Linked DNA regions of Homo sapiens: region 1 is linked to region 2. Evidence: promoter capture Hi-C in 16 types of primary human blood cells and fetal thymus (Javierre and others, 2016). All regions are on one chromosome and are shown on one strand. The core of a region is centred on a gene start or on the middle of the fragment in contact, and the rest is flanking DNA. Distances in the headings are between cores, read along the strand shown. Region 1 overlaps RAB6B (RAB6B, member RAS oncogene family). Region 2 holds the start of C3orf36 (chromosome 3 putative open reading frame 36).

Region 1 (3,825 bases), core at 481-2,980, 96 kb before region 2:
ATGCCACACATTCACCAAGTCCTGAGCTGAGCAAGTGAGGCCAGGTGTGAACAGTTTATACAGCGCCACAAAGCAGTGCTTCTGTGTGGCTGCTCTCAATGTGGAACACAATTATGAACATGACCCCAAAGCACACACCTTCAAAACACCTGGATTTGGACTGTGAGTAAGCAGAAATGCCAACACCCCATCCCGAAAGAAGCAGAATGACGGCTGCCTCTGCCTGGTCCCTCTGGGACCTCTGGTGGCCGCTCTAGCACCTGCCTCGTGAGAGGCCCAGCAAGCTGGCTCCTGGGCAGAAGTGAAAGGATGGGGGTACATCTACCCAGATGAGGGGACCCCTTAGCTAGAAAAAGGGACACAGGTCACAACACCCTGTGCAGTCTGTTTGCAACCTGCCATGTATCCTTTCTCCCAAGGGGCCCAAAGGTCAGTGGTAGCTGGATGAAACGCTAGGCATACCAGGACGATGACGAGCTCACTGTCACCCTGCACTCAGCCCAGTCTGACCTGACTGTGGGCCCAGCCTGGAGCCCTCAACAGCGCGACTCTGGGAGAATGTGAATGAAACGATCACCACTCACCCCGGCCAGTGTGCCACACCTTGGGAGCTGGTGGGATGGAGAGCGGGCAGTGCAACCCTTCCCCTTGCTGGCAGGCACAGCGGAGATCGCCTGCACCTTGTCTGCCCCTCTCCCTTGTTCCTGCTCCTATGTTTGCCCTTCAGGTTGGCTTCTGTATGTTCCTGGAACCTCAAAGGAGTCCCATGTGACAGGTGATTCCACAGGGGCTCTCTCCTGAGCTCTGGAGCCTGTCTCTGCTACTGAGAGCCGTGGGGTGCCCTAGTTTAAGTTTCTGAGCCTCAGTTTCCTTATCTGTGATTGGAGTCTCATAACTGACCAACCAGGAGATACTCCTCAAACCCCCTCCTCTCGGCCACTGCTTGTCCTCTGGTGACACACAGACCGTGGGACTGCTGGGGCACCTGCTCCTTGGTGAGCCTTCCTGACCCCCCCGGGGGGTGGGTCTCGAGTCTGCTCTGAGAGCTCCTTGAGCAAGGCTGGAGAGGCCTAGCTTCCCTCCAGGCCTGTGTCAGGCTCCCCCTTGCTGCAGCCCTGGGACTCCTGGTGTCCTGCCCGCCCTGCCCCAGCAGCTCCATGAGGCCTCCAACATTAAGCTGTGTGCTTCTTTTGCTTTTGATTCTCATCAGCCCAAAGGTGCCCTTCCATCTTCCCAGGGCCCTTCTTTGATCTGTCAGGGATGTCTACCCTCAGAGGCCTATAGGATCAGTGGGGGATGTTGGAGAGCTGCTGTGTAGGGACAGGTCCACTGTAAAGGATGCCAGCCAGGGATCTGCATGCTTGTTTTCTGGTGGCTTACTCAGGCAGGGACATCTGACTAGATGCAGGGGAGGCCCAGGTGTGGGCAATGGCTTCCCCTGCTGAAACAGTTTTCATCTGATTCTCTCAAATGCCCTTAGAGGGACAGTGTCCCACATGGAATAGGGCTGGATATGGAGGAAGCAAGCCTGAGTGTGAATCCTAACTGTAACTTACATGCTGTGTGACACTGGGCAAACCAGACTACCTCTCTGAACCTCAGTTTCAGCATCTAGGTGTCTCTTCAGGTTGGGGCTGGTTTGTGGGTGATGCGCAATGGTCCCACAGATCAGTGGGGAGCCTCAGGAGCTGTTCAGGGCTGGGTAGAGAAGGTGGGCGGGACAAGGAGGGGGCATCTGTCTGAAGGGGGGAGCTGTCTTGAGTAGACTGAACCACGTTGAGATCATATCCCCAGTGACAGAGACTTCCCTGCAGTGGAGACTCTGCCTGTGTTCATGAAACCCATAAACATGCTCGCTGTAAAGAAGGGCAAAGTCGCTGTTTCTCACTCCCCACCCCACAGCATCACTCTGTGCACACCCCTTTGGTATCTTCCTGCTATTCTGGAAGAAGAAGTAGATGGTTAGAGCCAGACGGGGGCTCCAAACCATAGGGTTCAGCTGCATCCCGCCTAGAGGAGGCCCCGTGCCATTCGCGGCAGACCAGGGAAGGCTGGGCGGGGACTGGGCGAGTGTCTGTCCACTGCACTAACATATTCAGTGAATAAATGGCTTCTATACATCTTTTCACTCACTTGTCAAAGGAAAAGGATACTCCCTTCTTTGCTTTTCTCCTGGACATTCTCCATTCCGGGTAGAGCCGACGCCACACGTCGAAAAAGCTGGAAAGATGAAGAAATGCAGTGTGAACCCCAACCCTGGCCCTCCCCTCTGCTCCTCACTGCACCTGCACCCTCACCCCTCTTCCCCTCCCAACCTGCAGCTTTACTCTCCCATCTGCCCAGCGGACGGTGCCCTCAAAGGCAGGGGCTGTGCCTATGTTCTCTCTCCCCCACCTCTCACAGCATTGGGTCTGGGCAGGCCTCAGTAGCTTGTGGAAGGAAGGAACAAAGCTGTGGCCTCTCACCCAAGCAGACTGGCCATAGGGTCACTGGGATGAGCTTAGGTCATGGCAGTGACTGCAAGGGACTTCCTCTGGTGCAGAAAATGGTTTGGGCCTCTGGGTGACAGGCCTTAAGGTGGGCTTCTGCAAACAGCCCTCATGGGGACCAGGCATGGGGAAGTGACTTGCCCTTGAGATGAATGACTCTGCTTGGGGAGCCCTGCAGGTCCGGCGCCAAGGCAGCGAACAGCAGGGCCAGGGCTGCATGGGCACAGTGGTGAGGCTTCTCTGAGAGCGCGAGGGATGCAGGAGTGTGAACACAATTTTGTGGGCTTGTTTGGATGTGTAGGAGTGTGAGTTGTTTATTGTGTGTAGGAGTGTGTGTACAGTGTATGTGTTTTATCTGTAGGACTGCGTGGAAAATGTGTGTGTTGTGAGTGGTGCGTGTGGGTAGGTGCATGTATGTTTGTGTAAGCATATGGGGGAATGTTTGAGTGTGGTGTGTGTGAACGTGTGGCATCTTTATGTGTGTGTTTGTGTAAGTGTGGGGGGAATGTGTGCATAGTGTGTGTCCTTGGTAAGGTGTGTGTCTGCGTACATGTGGGTTTTCTGTGTGTGTGTGTGTGTGTGTGTGTGTGTGTTTGGGCAGGTGTGGGTGGCAGGGGACAGGTGGCAAGTGGCAGATGGGGTGCTGGCAGAGATGGAATCTTGGAGGTGACAGGTACGAGGCAGAAGTATGAGGCACAGAAGACTCTGAACTGCTAGGTTCTGAATGCCGGTCCCCCTGCAAATTCCTATGTTGAAACAGAATCTCCAATGTGACAGTATAAAGAGGTGGGGCTTTAGGAGGTGCTTAGTCAGGAGGGTAGAGTCCTCATGAACGGGATGAGTGCCCTTATGAATGAGGCCCGAGGGAGCCTGTCTGCCCCTTCCACCTTGTGAGGATGCAGCAGGAAGGTGCCATCTAGGAGGAAATGGGCCCTCACCAGACACTGAATATGCCTGCACCTTGACCATGGAGTTCCCAGCCTCCAGAGCTGTAAGCAATACATTTCTGCTGTTTATATGCTACCCTGCCTATAGTGATTTGTTACGGTAGCCTGAAAGGACTAACCCAGGAGCACTCCCGCTGTCCTCACAAATGTGAATTGCAGGAACTGGGTGGGCTCTGGGCTCATACCCTCCACTGCATGAGCTCTCTGAAGACAGGGTGAGTCTTATTCATGGCCTCACCCCAGAGCCCAGCCCCAGCTGAGCACCCGGGCTGGGTGACAGGGCTAAAGGCCATGAGGGCCCAAGGGGGGAAGCTGCTGGTGGGCCCAGCATGGTGTGAGACCCTTGTGGGCGGGCTGCAGAGGAGGCTCTGCAGTGGGGTAGCCATTAG
Region 2 (3,767 bases), core at 434-2,933:
TGTAATGAGGAAAAGGTTTAAACAAATGTTGGTCCCTATCTGGGACCTCTGAAGTCACTTTTAATGGATTTGGGGATTTTACAGATTTAAAAAGGGGTGCCTACTGTGGCCCATTTATAGACCTGTGGAGCGAAGAGAAGGAGATTAGTCACACTGGGGGCCGGAGTAGAAGCCGTTTTAAATTAGTTGCCCCGCTCTGCCTTGAGACTGAGACTTTCTGACTCTCAGTTTCACCCTTGGGTTCCAGCACCCAGATGAGAAGAGAGAGAAGGTGGAAGAGGAAGAGAGGGAGGGGATAGAGCAGCGGCCACCACCTCTCCCTGAGAGGGCGCAGAGTGGGTGGTTCCCCCCAGGTGAGCAAGGTGGGGGCCCCGTGGGTGTGCTGGGTAGGGGTGGAGTGTGCTGGGAGCACGCGGGAGGACTGCGCCTCTGCTCCTCGGGGTGTGGCGCGGCCCACTCAGGAGCCCCTTCCAGTGTAGACTCCAGGAGGGTACTCTGAGCTAGGAATGCCTTCCTGAGCGTGGTTGGTGGGGGCTCTAAGGCCATTCCTCCAGGCCCTGAGGGGGCAGAGAGACACGTGAGCACTAACCCAGGAGCCGGGACTAGGCTGAGCCCACTACTCACAGCCTGGGGTAAGCCAGCCTCAAGACCCTCCAGGATGGTCTCAGCCTGCATCCGACTGCCTCTCCTGCCTGACCACTGCGCTCCTTCACAGGCCTCTGGCCGGCGAGTTCTCAAGATGTGCAAAGGTTTCCTGCTTCCTTACCTTTGCACACCTTTGCTTATTCCTTTTGCCCAGAAAGTCTTTCCCAGCACATTTGACTCTCTTGAATTCCAGTCTCTCCCGCATGGCTAGGATCAAGCCCGTTCTCCCATCGCTCATCAAATGAACTCAGAGCATAGTACTTTGCCCTGTGTTAAGGTCTTGTCTTAGCTCTGGATTATATGTCCTTGAAGGGTAGGGACCATGTGTTTGTCACCACCTGTCCTTATACACATCAGGTAGTACATAAATCAAGGGAGGCGTGAGGGACAACTGGAAGGAGCCTCGTTTTCTCCATGTACAGGATGGGACTAGTCATAGTGGCCGCACAGGGCTGTGGGAACTCTGGTGCGATTCTGCCATGAGTCACCCCATCTCCTCCTTGCCTGCAGGGTCTCGCTCCATCAGCTGTCCTCTTGGACCCCGCAGCCTCCCCATCCTGTGGCCTTTTGCCCCAGCAAATCTCTCCTCTCTGAAGCCATCCTTTCCTTGACCCTGCATCTCTCTCAGCCACCACCCCATCTCTGCCTCCTCTGAGCAAAATCGTCTTTCCCACCTCCCCAGCCCTCTGCAGACTGCCTCGGCCTTGCCTGGGCATCATCCCCTCAGCTTCAGGGACCCACAATTGGTGCTTCCTCCATTGGGAAATCTTTCCAGACTGTGCTTCCCAACCCCGACAGCCCCGCAAAGCTGGTTTAAGTGTCCCGGTGAGCAACTGTGTCCACCTAGGTTCACTACCCACAGTAGAGGGTTTTAGTGCTCAACCATATCTGCTCTTTTCTTCTCCTGAGCACACAGAATATTCTGTTCCGCTCTTGCGGCAGCTAGGCTGGGAGCAGAGTGAAGAGCGTTACTTTGGGACAAAGCATTGCTTAGCAGTGCGGGATCTTCCAGGACTTTCTTCCCCTGCCCCATCCATCATGGCAGCTTATAATGAAATGGAGGTACCTCAGGTTCCAAACAGTCTGAGTTACTGAGACACTGGTTGGGGGGGCTCTCAGGCCAATCCTCCAGGCCCTGAGCAGGCAGAGGGGCACTACTGAGCCACTGACCTGAGAGTCACCCAGATCACCACAGGTTCTGTGAGCGAGATACCATCTTTTGTTGTGTCAAGTGACTAAGATTCGAGAGGTTTGTTACCACAGCATAGCCAAGCCTTTCCCCACTGATTTACTGATTAAAGAAGTGTTTTAAATGGGTTAATGGCTTGGTAAACTGTAAAGATCTGTGCACATTTTAGTTATTATTATTGCTGTCAAGTTGTAGCAGGGCTGGAGACATGATGTGGCTGGAGAGTGGAGGAATGGCCAGGGTATGCCATGGAGAAAAACTTCCTCTCATTTATGATTTGCCAAGGGCTTTTCCAGGATCTGTTTCCATATTTAATCTCTGATGAAAGGTTATAATGAATCTGGTGTCTGGTGCTACTGGCAGGAGATGGACCTTTCTTCCAGGTATTTACTTCCTGTGGTTGCGAAAGATAGGATGTATTTCTTCTGGATTTGCTGCAATATAATATTTTAGTATCAATTTGATACTGACTGGCTTCAGCCTCCAGCTTAACTGTATCTCTCCATCTTTGAGAGTGGTTGAATAAAATCACAATATGGCTTTGTTTCTTGAGCAAGAATCTGCTAAGCAGTCACCAGATGGAGCTGTTCCCTTGAAGGTCTGTGTGCAGGATTCTCAGGGCCTTTTCTTCTCAAAACCCTTCCCTCTTTGTCTCTTTTCTCCACAACTCTCTTTAACTCATGGTGCTATAGGGATAAATTGGCCCTGTTTAATGAATAGTTGTGATGTTGTTGCTAGTTGAATAGAAGGTAAGTAAATGAACTGTTACCTGGTTCTTTTGCCTTTGTTACCCACCTTAATGGCCCTCAAGAGATTCCCCCACTTCCCTCCCATGGGCCAGTGAACATCAGTGGGAAAAGAGGGGCCTCCCCACCATTTTAGTCCATGCTGACTCTTCAGAATGACTCAGCTGGGGCAATTGGGCTGGACCAGAGAGAAGTGGACAGCCTGGTTTGAGTCTAGACCTGGCCAGCTATTATCTATGTGAAATTGGCCACAATGGTTGCTTCCTCGGGATCAGATTCCTCACCTTTACATGGGGCATCCATCATGGAGGATCACCCCAAAGGGCTTTGGGCCAAAGGATAATTGATAGAGATACGGTATTTAGTTATCACTGTATTTGCGCTTTTTCCAAGAAGGGTAAAAGAAGGATTGAATAAAAAAGGTTCCTGCACACTCTTCCTTTTCCGGCTTTTTTGTTCAGCCCTTGAGGAGCGGGATTCTGTAGGGAGAGGGAGTGGTGCAGAGGAGTGGGCTTCCTAGGACTGGGGCCGGGAGAGGGCATAGCCGCGAGTGTGCACAGGGAGGTGGGCCTAACCCTGGGGTCTCGGCTTTGTAGGGTTTCCAGGCTCAGGTGAGAAGCAGGGCCATTAAACAGCCTCAAATGGGAAAGGGACCAAAGACCCACAATGGCACCCTTGAATGCGTAGGCATCCAAGGACCTTCAGATGGCTCTAGGAGCCAGACCCAAGCATGGTTGATATTGAATTTCCAGCCAGACAGTAGGATGGGGGGTTTGAAATCAATAACTGATTTAAAGAAATAAGTGATTTTTTTCTTTTTGCACATCCAAGCTTGTGAAGTGAGAATGTCTCTCTCAGTACTGATAAGGGCCTCATATAAATGTGAGCTCTTGGATTGTTTTTCATGCCCATTGACTCTTAGTTGCAGCCATCCAAAAAATCAGATTCACAGGCATCTCTTCACCTTGTTATCCTTCACTCACCTTTGAACATACCAAAGGCCTATCGAGCCTGTAAATTTCTCAGTGGCCTAAGCACAAATGGGCATACCCCAGGCTCTATTGCACTGACAGCCCACCTCACAGGATTTGGGAACTACCCACATCAATCTCATGAGGGGGCCGTTAAAAGAGCCATTCCTGGGTCCCCATTAGACCCACAGAAGTAGACGCTGGGGCTGGGTGGAG

Evidence for each region. Contacts are between HindIII fragments. The CHiCAGO score rates a contact against its expected background, and 5 or more counts as called.
Region 1: a fragment that was not itself captured here is called in contact with the fragment with the promoter of C3orf36 in region 2 in 1 of 17 cell types (megakaryocytes); the score reaches 6.5 in megakaryocytes.

Annotation. Positions count from the first base shown.
Region 1 is chr3:133,832,422-133,836,246 of GRCh38, forward strand. RAB6B (RAB6B, member RAS oncogene family) reads right to left here. Exons shown (of 8, transcript NM_016577.4): 7 at 2,154-2,220. Among named protein-coding and RNA genes, the nearest start is that of SRPRB, 29 kb to the left of the region's middle. RefSeq lists a silencer at 3,156-3,336. The HindIII fragment of the contact is 9,695 bases long and covers 1-3,825 here.
Region 2 is chr3:133,928,129-133,931,895 of GRCh38, forward strand. It overlaps C3orf36 (chromosome 3 putative open reading frame 36), which reads right to left and starts at 1,684. Exons shown (of 1, transcript NR_161373.1): 1 at 17-1,684. The HindIII fragment of the contact is 5,965 bases long and covers 1-3,409 here.